Regions from separate parts of the Homo sapiens genome. Here region 2 is linked to region 1. Evidence: promoter capture Hi-C in 16 types of primary human blood cells and fetal thymus (Javierre and others, 2016). All regions are on one chromosome and are shown on one strand. Each heading gives the region's core, a stretch centred on a gene start or on the middle of the fragment in contact. The rest is flanking DNA. Distances are from core to core; before and after follow the strand shown.

Region 1 (5,683 bases), core at 2,115-4,614:
GTAAAACCTGAACTTGAAATATCCATCACAATGTTTCATTTTGCTGAACTTTTTCTGAGACACAGTCTTGTTCTGTTGCCCAGGCTGGAGTGCAGTGGTGCAATCTTGGCTCACTGCAACCTCTCTCTCCCAAGTTCAAGAGATTCTTATGCCTCAGCCTCCCAACAGCTGGGACTACAGGCATGCACCACCATGCCGGCTAATTTTTATATTTTTAGTAGAGACAGGGTTTTAGTAGAGACAGACATGTTGGCCAGGCTGGTCTCAAACTCTTGGCCTCAAGCGATCTGCCCACCTTGGCCTCCCAAGGTGCTGGGATTACAGGTGTGAGCCACCATGCCTGGCTTCATTTTGCTGAACATACATATATATTTAAAAATTTTAAAACTTTTTAAGAGACAGGGCCTGGCTGTTGCCCAGGCTGGAGTGCAGTGGCACAATGGCAGCTCACTGCAGCTTCGAACTCCTGGGCTCAAGCGCTCCTCTCGCCTCAGCCTCCCAAAATGCTGGGATTACAAGCATGAGCCACTGTGGCTAAGAATATTTTTTGTCATGTTTGACAGCGCCAGCTGTCTTTGGGTCTTTACCTCTGCTGAAGTCATTTGAAGAAACAAATCTAAAGAAATACTGCTTGGCAGAGGGGAGGAGAGAAAGGTTAGGACAGAAAGCATCAGGATGACTCTCCAAGAAAGGGAATGTCTGAATGACAAGAGGACTACAGACAGGAGAAAACATTCAAGAAAATTTATCAAGGTATTCTTTGTTCCTGTTGAAACCTCATCATCAATGTTAGTGTCTTCAGAAGCCCACCCAAATATATTATTTTACTTTGATAAAAGACAACTTGGAACCATATAAAAGACTGCACTGGTACCATTATTCCATTTTACAGATGAGAAAAGTAGCTCATTTGGAACATAATGAGCTAGGTTTTATGGATTAATCTAGATGCTGAACTGAATTCTGTATTGTATTTCATTTTCTCTGTCCTTTTCTACTGGATGTACATACCTACATTTAATTTTAGAGTTATCGATCTAAAGCTGGCTGCAGAAGCTGTCTCATTTAGACAGGTCCACGCTTGTCAGGAAGACAGGTCTGTCCAGGCAGACCTTTCAGTTTGTTCTATATTTCATTTCAGGCCACAGCAGACCAAATAAAGAGGAAATGAAGTGTTTTATAGCAAATAACTTACTGTTGAATACACATGTCTTGTACGGACAGGCCTCCCAATTTGATGTTAGAAGGGGCCACAGAGTAGTTAAGATAGTCAAAACAGAAGCAACTGTATTCCTTAAGAAGGTAAGAGACAAAATCAACATATTAAAAATATTCAAGTTGAGTGGTAGGTAAGAAACTCCTTTTACTTTACCTTTGATTTATGGGGAAAGGCTAAACATGGAAATAATTAATTTTAAAATGTCTTTATATTAGATATAGAAGTATTGGTGTTAAGAAATCTGATAGTAAGTACAGTGTATAGGAAGAAAGAGACGGGAAAATTAGCTAATAAGTGATTTTTTGACTTGAGTAGAGCTATGGTTAAAAATATATGGAAACCTCTTTCGAGTATATTTTTTTCTTACCAATATATACTTTTTATGATACTGAGATTTTATAGTGAACATTTGCCTATTCATCCCAATATAATATTTCTTATAGTTTGGTATCAACCCCTATGATTATTTGTGAGATAAGGGAGTGGTTTGTATTCATGGGTATACATATCTATACACATTTCTGCATGCCGTACACAAACATAAGTAGCATTGTGCATGAACATATTAGCACTGTGCATGTACTAAAATTTCAATTTTTTCACATAGTAGGTTATAAAATAAATCATATATTCGTAGGAAAGGTATAGAAAGCAAAGTTATTTAAAGTGGATTTTTAAAAAAGATTTGAATGATTTTTTTTAAAAAAAAGATTAGAACCATTGTTTTTAAAAGGAAACAGCTTTAGATAGTAAATTATTTACAGCCAGGACTCAGCCCTGAGCATCCTGTGAAAACCACACGAGCTTGGTCAAGGTTCTAAGCAGTCACCGGTGGGAGATGGTCATGGTCCCGTCACAGCATAACTCACTTGAGGCTTGAAAAGTTTCCGTCCAGCTACGGTTTGCAGTGACCTTTCTCTTCTGCAAAGCCCACGGTTACCTGGTGGCCACCACCAACATAGCCCCGCCTCGCTGTCCTGCGTTTCTCTCAATCAGATCAGTCCTGCCGAGTCCCCATGCCTTACTGCTGGTGTGCTGTGTCCTCTGTGCCATTTCAAGGCGAGGGCTCATGAAACTTTTACTCACACGCTGCTATTTTTGATATGCGGTGGCCTTAGCTGTGGAGCGAGAGGCCGATAATTGTGATCACTCCGGAAATCCTGGGAAGCCAGAAGTGGGAGATGGGTGTTGTGAGGTGGCGTGGCTAGGGAGACCCCATCGAGTGGGTGTGTTATAAGACCTGGGCGAATCCCTGTGGCTGCCACTCTCCTGAGAATGTTCCCTAGGCCTTAGTCCCGCGCCGCTCCCACCCACACCTCCAGGTGTGCAGTCCCCGCCCTTAATTACTCTCACTAAAATTGATAGTTTACACTTGCAAAGCTACACTGGGAAAGCGGAAGAGAAATTTATAATCGTGGATATGGAGAACTAGGGGAGCAGACACACTTGCTTTCGTTTACAGATCCAGTGAAGTGAAAAATCAGAACTAGAAACGTATGCACCTTCCTAGCAGCAAAGCCGCTTCTGCGTTCTTCGCAGCCTCCAGTGCAGGGCGGCGCTGGGAGAAACTTTGCGCCTTCTGGAAAGTTTAGAAAGTGAGCCACGAAAGAGAGGCCACATTTCCGGGGTTTTGCGGGCCCCGCGATGTTTTCCAGAGCTTTTCGAGTGGGAAGAGGAGAGCGACAACGTGAAAATGCCCCGTGCCGGGGCGTCCACCGGAGTCCTGCCAGCTGTCCGGCGCTGGGGTAAGCGCAGGAGGGGCGGGGGTGGGACCCGAGCTGGCGGCCACGGGTCTCCCGCTGCGGGTGTGTCGACTCGGGGGCGGGGCGGGGGAGGCTGCTGAGATAATGAATGGGAGGCTAAGGCCACCCCCCAGCCCCGGCCCTGCCACCACCGTGGGCTGTCGAGCCAATGAATGGAGGAGGGGGCGCAGAGGTCAGGGGCGCTGGGGGCGCCACACCAGGTAAGGGGTCCAGCTTGGGAGCGGGGAGGGCGGACTCTGGGGGTTCGGGTGTTGCTGACTTGTGCTACGTGGAACAAGCAGAAAAGAAGGAAGGCGGAGGAAGAGAGGAGGCTGGCGTCGGCGCTGCTCCTCTGGCCCTCCCTCTGCGCCCCCTCCTCCTGCCAGCGCGCCAAAGCCGGGCAGTAGGGGCCGACTGGCGGCTGACGCTCCCTGAGTGGCGACTCCGTCTCCAGCCCCGCTGCGGAGCGCGGGCCGGATCTGGGGCGGCCAGGGCCCGGAGCCGCGGAGCCCTCCCCGCCGCCCGGCCGAGCACGGGACCCCGGCGGGGTGGGCGCAGGGGGCGGCCCCGCTCTGGGCGACTGCCGAGGGGCGGGCGGAGGGCCGGGCTCGGCTGGCGGTGGGGCGGGGGCCGCCGGGACTGGGCGCGCGGCCTGAAGCCAGCCCGGGGGCGGCAGGAGAGGGACGCGCGGCGGCAGCGAGCGCAGGTAAGGGGGCCGGCGCGGCGTGTGGGGACGGCGCCCCCTGGGCGCGAAGCCAGAGGCCGCGGCGACTGCTCGGCCCGCCACACGGCGCGCTGGGCTCACACTGTCCCGCCGCGGACGGGCTTTGTGGTTGGGGGCGCGCGTGCGAGTGCCAGTGAGAGTGTGGGTGCGCGCTGTGGGCCGCGGCGCGGGTGGGTGGCCGTGCGTTCTTGCGAGCCGGCCTGCAGGAGGCGAGGCTCCCCTGGCCTCCCGCACCCAGCGGCGGACCGAGCCCCTGGAGGGAAGTTGCCGCAGCCGCCCGGGCCGCCGGCCCTCCTGTCCCGCGCCAGGTCAGTGCGCCCCGGGGCCCGCCCAGTGACACGTAGGTGGCCTCCGGTTACCTGGGTCGGGGTGGGTGCGCGGGAGGGCTTGCGAGGGGCCCTCGAAATTCTCCCAAAACCTCGTCCCGCTGGACTTGCACCTCCGAGGGGTCCCTGCGCCCCTGGGGCTCCGCACCTCTCGCTTCCCACTGACGACTCGGTTGTCCCCCACCACCGGGCTGAGGACTTTTAACTAAGTTTCTGTCCAGCCGCCTAACAAACGTGCTTAACAAGTAACAGGAGGTTGTAAGGCAAGGGAGGGACCTGGCTTTGAAAGTTGATGGTTTTGAAATCGACGGCTCCTTTGACTTGCGTAGGACTCCTTTGTGGTGAATGGATTTAAAGTTTATTCTTGTTTTTCTTTGCTGCCATTTGGTCTTTGCAATGTTAAGAGTGAAGGCATTCAGGACTTGCTGCTGCCTGCTGTCTGGGGCCTGAGGTTGTGGCTCTCCGCTTCTGCTCTCCTCTCTTCATTTTTGTTGAAATCCGTGGATTTTTTCATAAATGTGGGTGCTGGCTTGTTTCACTATGGACGCGTCGTTTCCTATGGGGTTAGATAGATATTGGTAAACATAAATATTGAAAATGTGATGATCACATATTGATGATCACAGCGAAATCCTCTATTCCTTCAGGCTCTAACAGTTTGTTTTTCACGTATTTGCATAAGTGTGTTTGCTCAGCTAAGCATAATTGGTAAGCCAGAGGTCTGTGATTCAGAGTCTGCAGTTCTGGTTAAGGGGAGACTGTACACTTGGAAAATGCGAAGTTTTTTAAGAAGTTATTCCCTTGCCGGATAGAAGAGTGGGTCCCAAGGAAAAAGGGTGTATTTTAGAGGTATGGTTATTTGAACCAAACTAAACATCATTAAAATACACAGGGAGGTAGAATGTCACCTAGTTCTTTCTGCCCTTGATTTCCATATCCCAGTAGGAGCGAGTATAATTGCCCCAAATGCAAAATTATGAATAATAATCAGCATTGTAAGTATATTAAGGTTGCATTTTTTTCTTGATACTTGTCTGATTTGAGGATAAAAACACCAAGTGGCAAGAGAAGGAGGTAGCTTGAGGCAGGAAGGCACGGGCGAGGAGCGAGGAGGGAAGGCTGGGTTGTCATCATCCGAGCCCGCAAGGTACACCACGTCCCCTAGCGGCGCGACCTCAGCCAGTCGGGTCAGCTCAGATCCTGGTCTCCGTCTCCCCATCCGGAAAATGGAAGGGGTTGGTGATCGTTGCTGTTCCTTCCAGCTTCCCAAATAGCGAGAAACCGGTGGGAGGTTATCTTATTGTGTTAGAGCAGTAGGAAAAGGTAGGAGGGGGAAGTGAGAGGTCCAGAGGGCCAGGAAGATGGAAGAAAACAAGCAACAGAGGATGCTTGGAGGAGAAAAATTCTTGAGCTGGGAGCTCATTTCCTCTTTTTTTTTTTTTTTTCCTTTCCTCAAGGGACTCAATAATACTTCCCCCACCTCAGATCAATCTCTTGTTACCTTTATTATTTAAAGCTTGTGAGTTTGCTTAGCTAATGCACTAGGGTGAGGTCAAGGTGATCCTTGCAGTCTGACTTCTACTAGGCATCACTTGACTCATTTGCATCATTGTCTCTCAAGGGAACAGCTCCTGCCCAGGTCTGTGGGCACTCAGCATGGATTTCAGTCTCC
Region 2 (5,683 bases), core at 1,460-3,959, 850 kb after region 1:
TGACCTGTCTGCCTTTCATCATTACATAGAACCAGAAGTGTGCTGATGACTTCATGTCTTGGAGTTTCTCTAATTTCAGCATTATTCTTGAGATGGACTGGAAGTCATATGAAGACCAGAGAGAATGCAGTGATTACAACGAGGCAGGCTTCAGGGCAAGGGCCTGGAATGATTTGGGCAAGAAACTCCTGGAAAACCTCTCTCAGGTATTTAGCCAGAGGTGAGGAGGGTGGGCAAAGAGTTATTTTCAGGGTATTTTTCAGACACTTTAAAAATTTTAGGGTGGTTAATTTAAGAGTGATTTTGAATCCCAGCAAATCTCCTATGTCTCACTCAGGGGCTCTAAAGTGTGTTCTGCAGGCCAGCAGCATCGGCGTCACCTGGAAACATGTCCAAAATGAAAATTATTTGGCCCCACCCAGACCTGTTGACTCAGAAACTCAAGAGGTGAGGGCCAGCAGTCCGTTTTAGCGAGGCTTCCATAGGATTCTGATGCACACTCAACTTTGAAAACCACCATTTGTGGTAGAGTCTACCCCCTGCCTTAATGGGTGATCAGTATGGAGAAGTCACATTTGGTAGATTTTCCCTTGTAAACATTTCTTCTTTTTTGAGTTTAAAAAAAAAAAAAAAAAAAAAACAATCCGCCTTAGTGTCCCAAGCGTTTGGACAGAGACACAGAGAATTGCTTACTAGCTTTGGGGAGATTATGACATTTTTGCAAGATAAGTAACTTTTAGCTCCATTTTCCTATCCAGTCTACAGAATGTCCATTCTGTTAATCTCTGCTGATGGGGGAAAGGAGGTGGCAGGGTAAAAGTTTCACTCCCTACCTATCCCCATAGGAAGGGCACAGAACGTCTCACCCTTTGCTGCACTAGCCTCCAGGCCCAGGGCTGTGAAGCACGCCTTGTGTTTGCTTGCTGAGTTCCAGCTGGAGTGCTTGATGAGGAAGTAAACAGAGTTTATGCACAAAGAGAGAACATGTACTCAGTGTCTCCACATGCCAGACTCTGGTACAGAAGCAACAGATACAGAGGAAGTCACGAGCTTTGTTCTTAAGGAGGCTAAGTAACAAAAATTTAACCACTTGGAACAGGTGCAACTTCTGGGATATGTCTGAGTCAGTTCAGGCTGCCATAATTGAATACCGTAGACTGGGTGGCTTATAAACAGCAGAAATCTGTTTCTGAAAGTTCTAGAGGCTGGGAAGTGTAAGATCAATGCACTGGTAAACTCAGCATCTAATGGGGGCCTGCTTCCTGTTCATAGACGGCCATCTTCTGGCTGTGTCCTCACATGGTGGAAGGATCAAGAGATCTCTCTGGGGTCGCTTTTTTATTTTCTTTTTTTTCCCTGAGGTCTCTTTTATAAGAACACCAGTACCATTCATGAGGTCTCCATCCTCATGACCCAATCACCTCCCAAATACCCCATCTCCTAATATCACCAGATTGGGGTTCAGGATTTCAACATATGAATTTTGGAGTATGCAAACATTTACTCCATAACAGGAGATAATTAATTATAAACAACTTCATTTTTACCTTCCAAGGCCTTGGATGAAATTCATGGCTGGGTGTGTCACTCATAGGAATGAAAACCACTCGTTTCAGTTCAGAACTTAGTAAGTCCTGCCCAGCACAAGTTTAAAAACAAAAAAGCCCTCCAACTTCTTTCTCAGGAGCTCTGGGCTGGACGTCTGCAGTGAGGAAGGACGGGAAGCTTGGTTAACTGCTCTCCAAACTTGAGCTTCTAGCTCTCATCCCAAGTTACTTAGGGAAGTTTCATCCTCTCCAGGGTTGGGAGTGTACAATAACTGGGAGGGAGGTGGGTAAGACCTTACTTGAGTAATACTGTCATGAGATGCACGGGGAAGGAATTAAATGCTGACACTTTTTCTTTCCTCATTTTGGAAATTCACCCTCTAATGGATGGGATCCTCCCTGGACATGGGAGGAGGCATCTCTGCTTTTCCTGGTTGCTTAGAATCCATCTGCAGCTCCTCGGCATGCAGGAGTCAACCACCAGCTTGGTTTTGCTCTTGCTCCACACCTCACCCCTCCAAGGCAGTGGTTGTAATCAGGATCTAAGAAAATCTTAACACCATCTGTCTTAAATGCGAAGCCCCTCTCTGCTTCATGGGTCACACACATACTTTGTGCTCACAAACTCAGGAGAGGAGGCCAACCTCATGCAGCCATTAGGGACACCGTCAGCTATGACCTGGAGCCCTTTGGAGTTCTCAGGTGTGTCATGTTCTCCAGTTTACAAGGAACAAATAAAAGCTGCTTGAGGGGCCCTTTTGAAAACCTCTTTCCCACAGCTTGAAATGAGGCAGGCATCCCCTACTACCCCCTCTTTATGGGGATAGGACTCTCAGCTGACTGACAGTTCTCTCCAACAACCTTCTTCTAATTGCCAACCGCTGATGCGGCTGAGCTTGAAAGTTATGTATGAAGTTAAACAGAAAATTACCATATGACCTCACAATTCCATTCCTAGGTATACACCCAAAAGAATGGAAAAAAGGGACTAAAATAAGTACATGTACACCCATGTTTTCAGCACTGCTCACAATAGCCAAACAGTGGAAACAACCCAAGTGCCCACCAACAGAGTATGGAGAAACAAAATGTGGTCTATCCATATGATAGATTATTATTCAGCCATCAAAAGGAATGAAGTACTGATTCATGTTACAACACGGCTGAACCTTGAAAGCATTATACTAGGAGAAAGAAGCTCATTCACAAAAGGGCACATATTGTATGATTCTATTTATGTGCAATGTGCACAATAGGCAAATTCATAGACAGAAAGCAGCTTAGTGGTTGCCAGAAGCTGGAAGTGAGGGGAATGGGGAGTGACCATTTACAGGACACAGCACAGGATTTCCGTTTGGGATAATAAAAAGGTTTTGGAACTAGAGGTGGTGGTTGTATAACATTGTGAATGTACTGAATTATCTGCTTTACAATGGTTAATGTTATGTGAATTTCCTCTTAATAATTTATTACTTTTGTTTGTTTTTTTTTGAGACAGAGTCTTGCTCTGTTGCCCAGGCTGGAGTACAATGGCATCATCTCCATTGACTGCAACCTCAGCCTCCTCAGTTCAAGCAATTCTCCTGCCTCAGCCTCTCAAGTAGCTGGGATTACAGGTGCCCACCAATGCATCCAGCTAATTTTTGTATTTTTAGTAGAGATGTTTCACCATGTTGGACAGGCTGGTCTCAAACTCCTGACCTCAGGTGATCCACCCACCTCGGCCTCCTAAAGTGCTGGGATTACAGGTGTGAGCCACCGCCCCTGGCCAAGTTATTACTTTTTGTAAAGTTATGTATGATTGCCCTCTGGCTCCCCTCTGACCTTTCTGCCTGAATCTTTCTGTCTCATCCACATGGCTCTGTCCCAGGTGCTCATCCCATTTTTTGTCTGCATTCCTCCTTGGCGAGGTGGTCCATGGCATCACCTCTCACATCTATGCAGGTGATTCCCTGGGGAATATCCTGCCCTGCTCACTCTCTTGAAACCCGGGACCCATTTTAAATGGGCTTCTGGAATGCTATGCTTTAATGTGAACCCCTTGCACCAAATTCACTCCCACATTTTTGCTCCCCAAACTTATTCTTCTCCACTTTTGATGTAGGCTCAGATGGAACTGGATTAAGCATACCAATGATAAAGCTTCCAAGGAGGGGTCTGATGTCAGAGGATGATTCATACTTGCCTCAACCTGCCCAGTGCTCACTTTCCTCTGTCTGCCTGGAGTGAGCTTTGTGCTGTGGCACCTCAAACACAGGTAGAAAAGATAATCTGAATTCTCTTTGGGGATGTTTATGGAGTCCAGAGAGTTACGGTAGAAAACCCTCATCATACCCTTATAATGAGCCTGTACCTTTCCAGTGTACCAGACTGATGGCCAAGGACCAAGTAAATCACTTAATGGTTTGGGTGACATTATATGAGTATGCAGGTGTATCTAGAAGAATATGTGCATTAATTACACATTAATTACCTTAAGTGTTATACTTAAGGTGCTGAGTTTATACTCAGACAGCTTTATTACAGGTAAAGGGTACAATACTGCAACCGCAGGAGAGAGAAGAGTATCAAAAGGGATCTGCAGCTCTCAGGCACAGGCTTCTTTGTCTTCCCATTGCTGAGTCACACAAGACATGCTTGGTTTCTAGGTCTCAGACACCATCAGCGTTCACACAGAGAATATGAGAACTGGAAACCCAGGTCTACTTGCAGGGAGGGTCTCTTCTAGTGAGCTGGTCCCCTAGGCCATTCCAGCTACATGGCCAGCCTTAAAGGTCAACCCAGGCTCCACCAACATCAGATGCATATAATAATTATTATGATTACTAAACATTGCAGGTAGACTGGTACATCCTTTCGGGAAACTACTCAGGAACTCATGGTTAAAACACATTATTTCTCTTTAGTGAATGCATTCCATAGTTTTAGCTAAGGTCACTACCATGCAGCAGGTAGCTCTGGAGATAAGCACGCAATCAATCCAGACCAGCTGAAATGAACCCAGACTAAACCACATGGCAAACGTGTTCGACAGCCACAGCCATTTTCTTCAGGTCAGTCTGCAAGGCTTGCAAACTCAGAATTAGAGAAACTGCCACAAGTACAAACACCCGCATGACCCTGAGAGGCTCTGAAAAGCCCTCCTTAGCTGCCCTGGAGTGAGACATAGGTAACGTGGCTAAGGGACATCTGAACATAGTCACTTTATTTTTACAGTATTTCTGTGTGTCTGTGATGGAGCCTTCTTAAGCGCAAGAACACTGCTCCCATGAGATGCAGGATTTGTGGATTGTGAGCATTCAGATGATAATGCTGTCTCGTGTGCATATAGAGGATCTCCTGAGCAACCCAGAGGCCTTTCCAGGATTAATGGAAAGTTCCCCTGTGTTTCTCCCATCTGTCCTTGGAGCTATTCTCCTCATAGCTTTTGCTGTTTTAACTACGGGAAGGAATAAACTAGGTGCGGACTGAATAATGAGGGAGGATGTGCACCCTTAATCAGTTTCTAACAGCTTATGCTTTGGGCTTAGTTTGAGTTGTTCTTTTGCCAGCATCTACAGTAGCAGCAGGAACCCTGGCATGGCTGTTTCCTAATCTTCAGAAGTTGGTCAGCTGTCTGTCCCAATCAAGGCAAGGAAGCTACAGCTACTGGTTCAGGGAATGGAACCACCTGTATTTTCAGTAAATGCTTTACCGCACCTTACAGTTTCCTAAGGCTGGACCATGCCCATGACAACAAGGTTGTGGAGGTAACAGAGCAACAGGGTGGAAAGAGCTTGAGCCTCTAAATGACTGCTTAGAACAAATCTGCCTTCAGACCTCACATGCTCCCCTTGGGCTGTAACGTGAGAGAGAAACTTCTATCTTCTTTCAGCCACTGAATTATTTACTGGGTCTCTTTATTGGCTGTATTCTACTCAATATAGAAATGGGCACCTTAGTACTGGGGTGATTCTGTAAAATGTGTGTGTGTGTGTGTGTGTGTGTGTGTGTGTGTGTGTACTTGTGAACAGCAGGAGGTCGGGAAACAGACACTGCAACTGCAGGATGGGGAGCTGGAGATTGTTCTTATGGCAGGCCAGAATATTTGCATAACTCAGTAGACATTTGTGATAACTTAGAAGGCAGGCCGCATG

Evidence for each region. The method cuts DNA at HindIII sites, captures the fragments that hold promoters and counts their contacts. A CHiCAGO score of 5 or more calls a contact.
Region 2: a fragment that was not itself captured here is called in contact with the fragment with the promoter of LPAR1 in region 1 in 1 of 17 cell types (neutrophils); the score reaches 5.5 in neutrophils.

Annotation. Positions count from the first base shown.
Region 1 is chr9:111,036,151-111,041,833 of GRCh38, reverse strand. LPAR1 (lysophosphatidic acid receptor 1) reads left to right here and starts at 3,364. Exons shown (of 6, transcript NM_001351411.2): 1 at 3,364-3,667; 2 at 5,633-5,683. It overlaps LOC124902248 (a long non-coding RNA gene), which reads right to left and starts at 4,906. Exons shown (of 2, transcript XR_007061732.1): 1 at 4,045-4,906; 2 at 1-2,379. RefSeq lists a silencer at 3,595-3,934. The HindIII fragment of the contact is 5,735 bases long and covers 1-5,529 here.
Region 2 is chr9:110,184,491-110,190,173 of GRCh38, reverse strand. No RefSeq gene overlaps it. Among named protein-coding and RNA genes, the nearest start is that of C9orf152, 21 kb to the left of the region's middle. The HindIII fragment of the contact is 1,964 bases long and covers 1,728-3,691 here.